4 separate regions of the Homo sapiens genome follow, and all the other regions are linked to region 3. The links are contacts of gene promoters, found by promoter capture Hi-C in human tissues and cell types (Jung and others, 2019). All regions are on one chromosome and are shown on one strand. The core of a region is centred on a gene start or on the middle of the fragment in contact, and the rest is flanking DNA. Distances in the headings are between cores, read along the strand shown. Region 1 overlaps TSC1 (TSC complex subunit 1). Region 2 holds the start of TSC1 (TSC complex subunit 1). Region 3 holds the start of TTF1 (transcription termination factor 1). Region 4 has its middle 37 kb from the start of RAPGEF1.

What was found. The method cuts DNA at HindIII sites, captures the fragments that hold promoters and counts their contacts. A contact is called where the count stands out against the background at its distance.
Region 1: a fragment that was not itself captured here is called in contact with the fragment with the promoter of TTF1 in region 3 in 1 of the 25 tissues and cell types used here (mesenchymal stem cells).
Region 2: the fragment with the promoter of TSC1 here is called in contact with the fragment with the promoter of TTF1 in region 3 in 1 of the 25 tissues and cell types used here (lymphoblastoid cells).
Region 4: a fragment that was not itself captured here is called in contact with the fragment with the promoter of TTF1 in region 3 in 2 of the 25 tissues and cell types used here (lymphoblastoid cells and mesenchymal stem cells).

What each region holds. Positions count from the first base shown.
Region 1 is chr9:132,925,540-132,928,362 of GRCh38, forward strand. It overlaps TSC1 (TSC complex subunit 1), which reads right to left. Exons shown (of 23, transcript NM_000368.5): 4 at 1,662-1,765; 5 at 48-200. Among named protein-coding and RNA genes, the nearest start is that of TSC1, 18 kb to the right of the region's middle. The HindIII fragment of the contact is 3,992 bases long and covers 1-2,823 here.
Region 2 is chr9:132,942,824-132,945,865 of GRCh38, forward strand. TSC1 (TSC complex subunit 1) reads right to left here and starts at 1,793. Exons shown (of 23, transcript NM_000368.5): 1 at 1,720-1,793. MIR548AW (microRNA 548aw) reads left to right here and starts at 2,884; the gene lies at 2,884-2,948. It also overlaps a transcript of GFI1B not described here. RefSeq lists silencers at 1,401-1,460, 1,521-1,580, 2,111-2,190 and enhancers at 1,665-2,398, 1,711-2,010, 2,371-2,510. The HindIII fragment of the contact is 11,354 bases long and covers 1-3,042 here.
Region 3 is chr9:132,405,107-132,408,342 of GRCh38, forward strand. It overlaps TTF1 (transcription termination factor 1), which reads right to left and starts at 1,734. Exons shown (of 11, transcript NM_007344.4): 1 at 1,684-1,734. The HindIII fragment of the contact is 7,318 bases long and covers 1-2,791 here.
Region 4 is chr9:131,775,475-131,778,527 of GRCh38, forward strand. No RefSeq gene overlaps it. Among named protein-coding and RNA genes, the nearest start is that of RAPGEF1, 37 kb to the left of the region's middle. The HindIII fragment of the contact is 5,957 bases long and covers 1-3,053 here.

The DNA.
Region 1 (2,823 bases), core at 1-2,500, 520 kb after region 3:
ACTATACTCATAAAACCATTTCATTCAAATCCTTACAAACATCCTACCTTGAGACATTTTAGTAAAGAAGGCAAAAGAGGTGCTTGAGAGAGCTTATGCTTCCAAGATGGCTGCAGTCTTATGACATGACCCAGTAACGAGAGGATGGATAAACGAGTGGCGGCTTTGCCCACATATTCGTTAATCCTGTCCAAGAGGTGCTGAAAATGTAAAAGAACAAGGGCAGTCCTCACATGAATGTATGAAGTTAACACAAATAAAGACAGCAATGATGTGCTCCAATCTCTCAAGTCTTGTCTCTAATGTAAAGCAAGGGTCATGCAGATAAAAGGTCAAATTCAAGATTTTAAAAACCACGTTAGCAAACAAAACACTGCTGCATTTGGCCTGACAAAAGGCAGCCAGTTTGCAGCTCATGAAAAAGGACCCTACAATACACGCATGCAGAAAGGGGGAGACTTGTTCACAGCCCCTCAATAACCAACAGTCCCAAACTGTGATAGGTTACTGAAGCCATGAGGGGATCCTGCTGGAAGCAGCCACTTATTGCTAGAGCAACCCAGCCTACATGGTTTGGCCTCAAGTATCAATTAGGTAGTAGAAGTTACATTTCAGACCAGAGTAAACAAAAAAACAAGACGGGCCAGGCGCAGTGGCTCATGCCGGCAATCCCTGCACTTTGGGAGGCTGAGGCAGGAGGATAGCTTGAGGCCAGGAGTTCAAGGTTACAGTGAGCTATGATTGTGCCACCACGCTCCAGTCTAGGGAACACAATGAGACCTCACCTCTTTAGAAAACAAAACAAAACAAGATGTACTGTAAAAGGCATGCAATACAAGGTCTTCAAATCCTGGGGAAGTTGCTCTCATATATACACTTAAGACTTACCAAAGTCTGCAATAACAATGCTTTATTAGCTACTTACTAAAAACAAAAGGAAAACATGAAGGAGCCCTCCAAGTGCCGGGTGCTAGGAAACAAGACTCATTAATTTGTCATGTTAGTCCTTTGTACTTGAAGCTTTTCCATATCGATAAAAGTCTAAAAATTCTATTCAAAGTATGGGTTGAAAGATGGGTACCTATGGGCCAAATCATCACTATACAATTATAGTACTGGAAATGTAAGATTTCTTTAAACAAGATCTTTTTTTTTTTTGAGACAGTTTCACTCTTGTTGCCCTGGAGTGCAATGGTGCAATCTCAGGTCACTGCAACCTCCGCCTCCCAGGTTCAAGCGATTCTCCTGCCTCAGCTTCCTGAGTAGCTGAGATTATAGGTGTCCACCACCACGCCCAGCTAATTTTTTGTATTTTTTAGTAGAGACGGGGTTTCACTGTGTTGGCCAGGCTGGTCTCAAACTCGTGACCTCAGGCAATCCACCCGCCTCGGCCTCCTAAGGGGATTACAGGCGTGAGCCACCACACCCGGCCCAAACAAGATCTTTAACAGTCTCTGAAATATGTTTTATTTTGTAAACTTTTCAAGAATCATGGGTCCTACAAAGTAATTTTTATATGTAGTTATAAACTGGGAACAATGTCATCAGTGGCGCACAGAAATCAAAAGAATAAGCTCAGGACAAGTTGCACAGTGGCCGTGCACAGAAGCTGTTGTACTCATGAAGAACATATGAAATGCCTATGATATTTCAGCCATTACCTTGTCATGTGGCTCTTGCAAGGTGGTCAGGATGTGCAATGCCGGCTGAGAGCTGGTTTCCAGGTAATAATCCACCAAGGTGTTTACAAGCATAGGGCCACGGTCTAAATCAAGAAAAGGGCAATGGATGATACTTATTCCCCTTAACATCCTAAATTTACCTTACACAGCTTCCTGTCACAAAATCCAGAAAATGTTTCTTTATATGCTATTCTAAGTTTTGTGCAGCATTACAGTTCTGCCTTCTTAATTTAATAATAAGATATTCCAAGCTTATTTGCCTAAATATGCATAAAAACATATGAAGTCATTTTTATTGCCTTTTTTTTTTTTTTTTTTTTGAGATGGAGTCTCACTCTGTTGCCAGGCTGGAGTGCAGTGGCACAATCTCAGCTCACTGCAACCTCTGCCTCCTGGGTTCAAGCAATTCTCGTGCCTCAGCCTCCCAAGTAGCTAGCTGGGATTACAGGCACCTGCCACCACGCCTGGCTAATTTTTGTATTTTTACTAGAGATGGGGTTTCACCACATTGGCCAACATGGTCTCAATCTCCTGACCTTGTGATCCGCCCGCCTCGGCCTCCCCAAGTGCTGGGATTACAGGCGTGAGCCGCCACACCTGGCCCTTTATTGCTTTTTTAATTACAAAAAATAATCCATATCTACTGTTAAACATTCAGGCTATGTAAAAGTACATAAAATAAAAATGAAAGTGCTCCTCACCACCTGCCTCCCAACCCACTCTTCACAGATAAACACCCTTAAGTTTAGAGTGTGTCTCTTCAAACCCTTTTCTACTTGTATAACCACACGCACACAGCCCTCATGTCCACAGACACAGACACAGTTTGTGCATGTGTGTGTTTTTTCCACTGAACAGTATGTTGTAACCACCTTCCCACGTCAGCATCTATGGCCTATTTCATTTCTTTCCGTCCTCCTAGTGTTCCACTGCATGGCTCTACATAACTAATTTAACCATTCACCTACTGAAGGATACTTGGGTTTTTCCAATTCTTCACTGTATTTCACTCAAAGCTGTAATAAGATACAGATTCTTATAAATGGCCCAAATGGTATGTGTTTTAAAATTGATGACTGATGCTCCAAAAGGCTGAACATCAATTCATATTCCTGCTAACAGTGCCCATTTCTATATTCAA
Region 2 (3,042 bases), core at 543-3,042, 540 kb after region 3:
GTTTACACCAGGTGGTTAGAGGAAGATTCTGCAGCTCCCTAGGGCAATAGCAAAGAATGTTTCACTGTTTCTGAGGAGCCTCATTTGCCTGATGCATGACTGTTAAAGGTGCATTTCCCTACACAACCCTAAATCAGTTTTCACATTTGCATATTCCAGATTTACTCAGGAATGTTCAATTTAAGAATCACAGGTGGTTGCTCGGTAAATCAAAGGCTCCCCAAAGATTAGGTTTTATAATGCTTCCTGAAATTTACAGCTCCACTTTGCCGGCCTGTTTGAATTCAGATGACTCCAAGTTGATCCCAAAATTATAAATCAAAGTATCTCAGAAGAGTATTATTCTATTTTAGCACTTTTATAGCTTACTCTATGCAACGTGAAGTGTTATTTGTATGCTTTCTATTTAAAAAAAAAAAAAAGCCAGCAAGGATTTTAGCAGGACTTCTTTCTTCAGTAAACTCATCAGTTTTATTAAACTATCAAATACTTTTTAGCCTAATTTAGACTAACAAGTTCACATGCACAACACTGCCATCCCAAACAAAAGCTAAGGCGGATAAGCCAAGTGCATCCCCCCACTTCAACATTAAACAGACACACGTGCATAAACCTTGGCTAAATGATAAATTTTAATCACTTACAGGCCAGCTTTGATCAAATAACAGATAAATTTAAGAGTCATATCTTTGGAGTCAGTCAGATCCCAGCAGTTCCAGTCCTGGCTCAGATACAATTGGGGTGTGAACTTAGGCAAAGTACCCTGCTCTCTCCGGGCCTCAGTTTCTTCATTTGAGAAGATTGGAGGTGTTAACAGTGGCTGCCTCTTCTCTTTGTCGTGAGGACCAAAGGAGATAATGACTGCCAAGCACTTTCACAGTGCCTGGCACACAGAGAGCACTCCATTAACGTTAGCTGTTGTTCTTAGGAGGACCGCGTCCCCTCCCAAGTCCTCACCACACATCCAAAACACACAAAGCAAAACTCTTTAACAGGAAACACAAAGAAAGAGCTTTAATTCTACAAGGTCCCTCCGATTGCAGGCTCTTCATCCTCCAGTTCCTCAAATGAATGAATGAACGCCTAGGAGGGGCTCTGCAAATAGCTGTCTCTTAGGAATCCCCTTTGCCCACTTTAAGGTAACTGTCTTTCACCACCAATTAAACACCCACAAGTACACCCAGAGCGAGTCATGCAAATTTCAGCGGAGACACCGAATCCAGGCGAGTCCTTGATCCCCACAGGCGACCTCCATTCATTCTCCACGCCCCTATACCCCGACCCCTCTCTTTAAGTTCTGGGACCAGCCCCACCCTCGCGACCCTTCCCCTCCCGCCAAGCGTCTCTACCCTGCCCTCCGCACCTAGCGTGAACCTGTCACCCCACCAAGTGAGGGACTGACGAAGGGGCCCACCTCGCCCCTGCCCGAGGGACCGAGGCCCAGGGTGCAGCCGTCCCCTCGGGGGCCAAGGAGGGGCGAAGTGCTCCGTCCGGCTCGCCTCTCCTCCCCAGGGACCCGCCAGTCCCGGCCGGGCCAGCCGGAGATAGCGTGTAATAAGAGGGAGGGGAGAGCTCTCCGAACCCCCCTTCCCCGGGATCCCTACCAAGCAAGTGAGTCTCTTGCTCCAGCCCCTCCGAGCCTCCCCGGCTGGAGTCATGGTGCCGGGGCTGCCCCAGGAAGCCCCCATAAAAAGGAGGGGGAGACACCCCCATACTCACCCACCGTCTCCTCCCCCTCAGCTGTTTACCTCACAGTCCCTCCAGCCTACAGGGCGCCGCCATCTTGGACGTACAGCACCTCCCCCGTCGTGAAAGGGCCAAGGCCGACGGCGGCCTCCGCCACGAAAAAGAGTCCCCCTCCGGACCTCCCCTCCTTCTCGAAAGGAAGGATAGACGGCCGCGCTCGGCAGCCCCGCCGGAAGGAAGAGGCTCTTCCACTCATAACTGACGATGTGGGTTGGACGAGAAAAAAAGTAAGGAGGGTTTTTATGGAGGGGGGCGGGGCCGGGCGGAAGGATCCGAAAGGAGGCTGCGAAGAGATCTTGTGACTCCGCGAAGGAGGCAAAAAGAAGGGCCGGCGCGGCGGGAGGAGCCACGCGAGAGCCCGAGGGGGCGGGGCGGGCGGTCACGTGACTGGCGGGCGGGGGGACGCGGCGGAGAGGCGTAAACAAGCTGGCGGCGCCTGGGTGTGGTTGGAGCGCCCTGCCCCTGCCCCCCGAGTCGTTTCTGCCCTTCGCTTGCGTGGCGCCCTCCGAGGGTCTCTCTGTGGGCGGCCTCAGAGCAGCGATCCTGTTTCCCAAGGAGCTGCTGGGGCCCGCGTGGGTGAAGGGCCTGCTTGGGAGCTTTGGAGTTGCAGCTCACCTGGGAAGGGGCGGAAAGCTGCGGGCCAGGGCAGCCCTCCTTCCTGGGCTAAACATTTTCAGAAGCCCGCCTCCGGGATTGCGGGGGACCCCCCTGGCTTCTGCCTTCAAGTAGCTCACACTTCACACCTACTCATGACATCTAGGGGAAACCAGCCCTAATAGGAGACAGCTTGAAAATCAGAACGCCTTATTCCGTTTCCTGCTGAAACAAGGCTTTAAGTCCTCCAAGCCTCAGTTTCTTCCTCTGTGAAATGGGCATAATGACATCTGTGACGTGAAGAATCAAGGAGATGAAGTATGGACAGCGTTTAGCCCAGAGTCCTGCGCCTAGTAAATGCTCACTCACTAGATAGGTGGCCTTTATTGCGAGGCTGAGTATGATGGGCTCCATCCAGCACGAACACAAAGCCCTGTGAGAGGAGGCAGAGTGAGATGAAGTCGAACTGTGGGATATGAAAGGCATTTTGAAGGAGTAGGCATCAGGTTGGGTTTTAAAGGAAATGTAGGTTTTGTGAAATACTAGGTCGGTGCAAAAGTCATCACGGTTTTTACCATTAAAACCGCGATGACTTTTGCATCAACCTAATAGAACCAGGCGAGGCGGCTCGGGAGAGAAGGCCATTCCAGGCAGAGGGAACCAAAGGAGCAAGAGCCTAGGGGCAAAAAAGTGTTGGGTGAG
Region 3 (3,236 bases), core at 484-2,983:
TCGATCTCCTGACCTTGTGATCCAACCGCCTCGGCCTCCCAAAGTGCTGGGATTACAGGCGTGAGCCACCCACTGGCTGATTTCTTTTCTTTTCTTTTTTTCTTTTTCTTTTTTTGGAGACAGAATCTCGTTCTGTCACCCAGGCTGGAGTGCAGTGGCACGATCTCGGCTCACTGCAACCTCCGCCTCCCGGGTTCAAGCGATTCTCCTGCCTCAGCCTCCGGAGTAGTAGCTGGGATTACAGGCGCAAGCCACCAAGCCTGGCTAATCTTTGTATTTTTAGTAGAGACGGGGTTTCGCCATGTTGGCCAGGCTGGTCTTGAACTCCTGACCTCAGGTGACCCACCTGCCTCGGCCTCTCAAAGCGCTGGGATTACAGGCGTAAGCCACAGCGCCCGGCCTTGATTTCTTTAAATAACATTTCCCCTTCCATCAGTTCCTTTCCTTCTTTTTTGTAAATACTTCCTAGGCTGCTCTCTGGTCTCTGGAGCCCAGTACAACCTTCTAAATATATAGTCTCTCCCTGCTAAAAACTTTTTAGGGTTCCCCTGTTATTCTTAAGATAAAGTCAAAATCCTCACAGACCTGCAAGAGTCTTCATTTCTTCATAATCTAGCCTAGAGATGGACAGAGGTAAGTCCATGCCCACCTCTCTACCTCTCACTTCTCTCTAGGTTTCAGAAACCCTGCTGTTTTCAGTTCCTAGAATACACTACCTTCCTTTTCGTCTCAGGAACTTTGCAAAAACAGCCCATTCCATCAGGAAAGCTCTTCCTCCGCATTACCTTTCTGCCCTTTAACTGGTCCAAGTATGAAAGCCACTTTCTCAAGAGGACCTCTCTAACTCCTTAGCCGGTCTCATCTTTCTGGTTAACAGTGTTTCCCAACAACCAGCTGCTCCCCATTGCACTTTTGGCAGTTATAATATGATCGGCTTCTTGAGGGCTGGAATCCTGGCCATCTTGCTCCCAAATGGCTCCCCAGTCAGTGCTCGATACATATTGAGAACGGATATGCATTTATCCCCCCTTACTCAGAACATACACTTCCCGCTCTGCAGGTACGTGCCCAAACCTGGTCCCGGATTCTCTCACCGCCTTTGGGGTGCGAGAGAGACCCCGCTCTGCTCCCGGGTGGGCGCTCCAGGGCTGAGACTGGAGGAACTAACCAGATGTGAATTCTGCATCTTCTCACTCCCAAAGACCCAAGCCGCGGCCGGGCGCGGTGGCTCACGCTTGTCATCCCAGCACTTTGAGAGGCCGAGGCGGGTGGATCACCTGAAGTCAGGAGTTCGAGACCAGCCTGGCCAACATGGTGAAACCCTGTCTCTACTAAAAATACAAAAATTAGCTAGGCTTGGTGGCGGGCGCCTATAATCCCAGCTACTCGGGAGGCTGAGGCAGGAGAATCGCTTGAACCCAGGAAGCGGAGGTTGCAGTGAGCCGAGATCGCGCCACCGCACTCCAGCCTGGGCGACAAGAGCAAAACTCCATCTTTAAAAAAAAAAAAAAAAAACACCCAAGCCTCAGTTTCCCCGAGATAAGGCCTGGGGCAAAGACCGCGGCCTGGAGACCTCAGGCCAAAAGGCGGGTCTCCCAGAAGACGGGGAAACCCACCACCCCACGCTGAGTTTTTACGCGCGCATTTTGAAAAACAGAAACAACAAAGGCGCTTTCAACTTACCCTCCGAAAGCGCCGCCACCTTTCTCCCAACCCGGAAGTGCTGCTGTTGAGGAAGCGGAAGTAGTAGTGCGTCGCCTTCCGGCCCCCTCGGCGTCACGCTGCCATGGTAACACGGCTGCCGCTAGGCCTTGGAGGCGCGCACATTTGCCTACCCATTTTCCTTCTGGGTCCTTTAGACGTCAGGTGGGGTAGAGAGTGCTCCTGAAACGAAGAAAGTAGGACAGAATCCCCCTCCATTGACGTACTAATGCATGCGTGCATTCCATTTATTCCAGTTTTTGGTGAACTCCAGGAACAACTTGGGAAGACAGATGACAAATCAACTAAGATAATTTCAGATTATCTTGTAAGGAAAATAAAACAGGGTGACGTGATGGAGAGTGACTAGGGGACGGTGGGTGCTACTTTAGATGTAAGAGAGGGCTCACTGAGGAGGTGACATTTGAACTGAGTTCTAAATGGAAAGGGCAGGCAAAAAATCTAGGCAGAAGAGTGTTCCAGGCTGGAAGTGAGTGCAAAAGTCCTGAACTTGGTTGCTGGAGGACCTGGGACAAGGCCAGAGCAGCTGGAGCACAGAGTGAATCCACACAGTGAACCCACAGGGTGACAGACAGGTCGCACACGCCCAGCCTAAGTGAATGCATGTGAATGCAGGGGAGGGGGTGGGAGAGGAAGTCAGAGGTCTGCAGGGGCTATCTGGTGCAGAGGCTGATGGATGTTAAGCTTGGATGAAGTCTCAGAAGTTTAGAGTTAGCAGGAGCTTTGGAGATCTATCCCAGTCTTCCCATTTCAACAGAGTCCTGAAGAGACTTAGCCAAAAGGGCAGCTTTAACCTGGCCATCAATTCGAGGCCATTATATTTACCAACCAAACGTTTAACCTTTTTGGATAGTGAACATATACGATATAGGCAACAAGTTTTCTCACTTAATCCTTGTAATGAGGTATTATTAGCCCCACCTTGTGGATGAGAAACCTGGGTTTACAGTAACTTGTCCAAGGTGACTTAAATGGGCCAGCCAGAAATCAGACCTATGCTCTTTCTACTACTCCACTATCTTGCCCCTCACTGTTCCACCTGACTTCTATGTGATCTGCCAAGTGGCTTTGATTAAAAAATGCACAAACTATGCTTCCGTGAAAGTCTGGAAGGGAAGCAGGTTGGAGAAACGATGAGCCTATGTATGTACTCATGTTGCCATGCAAGGGCTGCTCTGGGATGTGGACGTGCAGTTGGAGCTCCGTCTGGAGAAGTCTGTAAATGTGGTGTTGTCCACTGTTGATATGGAAGGCCTTGAAGTCCAGGTCCGTCATTGGTGTCACGTGTTCTGTGGTGACCCCACTTACCCAGAGCCTTGTGGTGCTAGTGATGCATGAATGAACCCACAAAAGGCTGGCACTAGAGGAGAGATTAGATATCATCCAGTATCGATTCAGGAAAACTCCAATAGTGGTTTCCAATCCTCCTCCAACTGCACCAATCACCTGGGAAGCTTTTTTTTTTTTTTTTCAAATGCAGAGTCTCAACTTTGCAATGGATTTTATATTAAACA
Region 4 (3,053 bases), core at 204-2,703, 630 kb before region 3:
TCCCTGCCACTTCCTCCTTCTGTTACGGTGGCATCACCTGTCCTTGCCACCTTCCCACCTGCCCCAGATTGCACACCTGCCCCCAGTGCAGCTCTGCCCCAGTGAGGAACTCTGCCCACTTGGCTGGTCCGTTCTGACAGAGGACTTTCTGTTTGCTGGGCAACCAGAGGCAGAGTGACCCTGGCCTTCTGGAGGGCCACAGCCTAGGGCTAGAAGGAGGAGTGACAGGAGGGCAACAGCTCATGTAGGTCACAGAGTGTGAGCTTGAAAGGGACTTGAGAGACCATTAGGTCCACTGCCCCTTCCCTGCTTCTCAGAAGGGGATTCCCCAAGACCAGCCTTGAAACCAGTAGACTAACTGATCAGTTGAATAATTTTAACACCCACCACTTACATGTTGGATGCTTACTGCATGGTATGCACTTCACTGGGTCCTATTATCTGTTAGCACCACAATGAGCCCATGAAGTGGGTGTCCTTTGTGCGGTTGAGAAAGTGGAGGCTACAGGAGGCTATGCCACTTTCCCAAGACCTAACCTCTGGTTAGCAAGAGAGAGAGTGGAACTTGAACCCAGGGATGGTAGATTCCCAAGTGCAAGTCTGAAGGCTGCCCCACCCAGCCCACCTCCTGAGAGATGAGAACACCCAGCCGTGGGGGCCTCATAAGAATTCAGCAAAGGAGCCATTCCTGGTGTCCCAGGCCAGCCCCAGCTCCCTCCCCTCCCTGAACAAGGACAGAATGCCTGCAGTTCCCCATGGAGTGGCAGGATGGCACATCCCTGTGGGGAGCCTGCAGCCTTGGGCCTCAGCCACTGGGTCTGTGCCAGCCCTACCACGGGCATCATTTGAGAATGTCAGCGAGGCCCTCACTCCCTGCAGCAGGCTTGCTGGCTCTTTATGCCAATATTTTTGTGGGACATCCACTCTGCCCAGATCTGTACTTGGTGCTGACCCCCTGTCCTTCAAGTGTCGTCTGTCCAGTCCAGAAAAGAGCCCAAGACCCATGACAATCCTTTTGGGATATAAAGGATCTAAGAAGGCAGCCAGCAGGAGCCCTGGAGACCATCTGATCTGTCCTGCCCATCTTTCAGACGGGGAGCCTGGGGCTCGGAAATAGGGTAGGACTTGCCCAGGGCCTCACAATCCACCATTGGGCAGGCCGGGATGTGAACCTCAGGCCTCAAGCGGTGCAGGACCCTGGACAGCTCCCAGGCTCTGAGAGACTCCAGGCCTGGGTTCATGGTGAAGCTTGGGCCTGGAGTCCCCACCCCAGAGGGGAGGGACTGCACACGTTTCCCACCTGGCCTTCTGGTGACCAGTCATAGGATGTGCAGTAGCAGAACAGCAGAGGTGACACTCCGAGAGCCAAGTCCCTTCCCCCGGGAGAAGTGGTACCAATGGTCAGACTGTGAGGAAAGGGATGTGACACCAAACCAGAGAGGTCAGGCGCAGTGGCTCATGCCTATAATCACAGTACTTTGGGAGGCCGAGGCGGGTGAGTCAACTGAAGTCAGGGGTTCGAGACCAGCCTGTCCAACATGGTGAAACCCCTTCTCTACTAAAAATACAAAAATTAGCCAGGCATGGTGATGTGCACCTGTAATCCCAGCTGCTTGGGAGGCTGAGGCAGGGAAATTGCTTGAACCTGGGAGGCGGTAGTTGCAGTGAGCTGAGATTGTGCCACTGCACTCTAGCCTGGGAGACAGAGAGAGACTACGTCTCAAAAAAAAAAAAAAAAAAAAAAAAGAAAGAAGAAGAAAAAAGAAAACAACAACAACAACAACACACACACAAAAAAACAGAGAGAGCCCAAAACAGTAGAAGCACCTCACAGCCCAGAGCAGGAATGCATCAGGTCAAAGGCTGCACCATGAAACTGATAACTGAGAACATAAGCGGTGCATTTCAGAGAGACTTGATTTTCTCCCTCTTCTTCCTCTTCCAGCCACTTATATTTCATTCCTTCAAGGAGGTACCTTCAGTTATCTAGAAAATGCACCATACGCCAGGGCACAGTGGCTCACACCTGTAGTCTCAGCATTTTGGGAGGCCAAGGCAGGAGAATTGCTTGAGCCCAGAAGTTTGAGACCAGCCTGGGCAACAAGGTGAAACCTCGTCTCTACAAAAAATACAAAAATTAGTGGAGTGTGATGGTGCCAGCTACTTGTGGAGGCTGAAGCCAGAGGATCCCTTGCACCCCAGAGGTTGAGGCTGCTGTGAGCTGTGTTCGTGCCACTGCACTCCAGCTTGGGTAAAAAACAAGACCGTGTCTCAAGAAAAGGAAAGAAAATGCACCATATGAGGCCTCTCTTTTCTCAAAGATGCCATGTTGTCTGAACACTTTTCACATCTGCAATTAAATGATTATGTGCTTAACACCTAACTCTTGCCAAACCACCAGTCCTACAAGGGCATGGGCCCCATCTGCCTCTTTTCCAGCTGCATCTGAGTGCCTGGCACAGGGCCTGCCCCAGAGTAGTTGCCTGATCAACTTATCTTGGGTGAAGGAGTGAATGGAGGAAACAGTGCAGTGTCCTTCTGATAGGCTCAGCAGCTTGAGGGGCAGCTGGGTGCCCGCTGCCCCTGGAGTTCTTGCAGCTCTCCAGGGCCATGAAGCTAGACATAGATGCAGTGTGTCAGCTCCCTAGACCTCATGCAGGGATGCCTGTTCAAACAGGGAATGCTGGGTTCTAGATCCCAGCACTCCTTCCCAGGGAGTGACCTTATTAGGCTGGTAGGGGATAAAAGATGACAAAGGGGCCAGGCAAAGTGGTACGTGCCTGTAATCCCAGCACTTTGGTAGGCTGAGGCAGGTAGCTCATTTGAGGTCAGGGGGTCAAGACCAGCCTAGCTAACATAGAGAAATCCCATCTCTGCTAAAAATACAAAAATTAGCCTGGCGTGGTAGTGCATGCCTGTAATCCCAGCTACTTGGGAGGCTGAGGCAGGAGGATCGCTTGAACCTGGGAGGCAGAGGTTTCAGTGAGCTCAGATTATACCACTGCACTCCAGCCTGGGTGACAGAGTAAGATTCCTTCTCAGAAAAAAAAAAA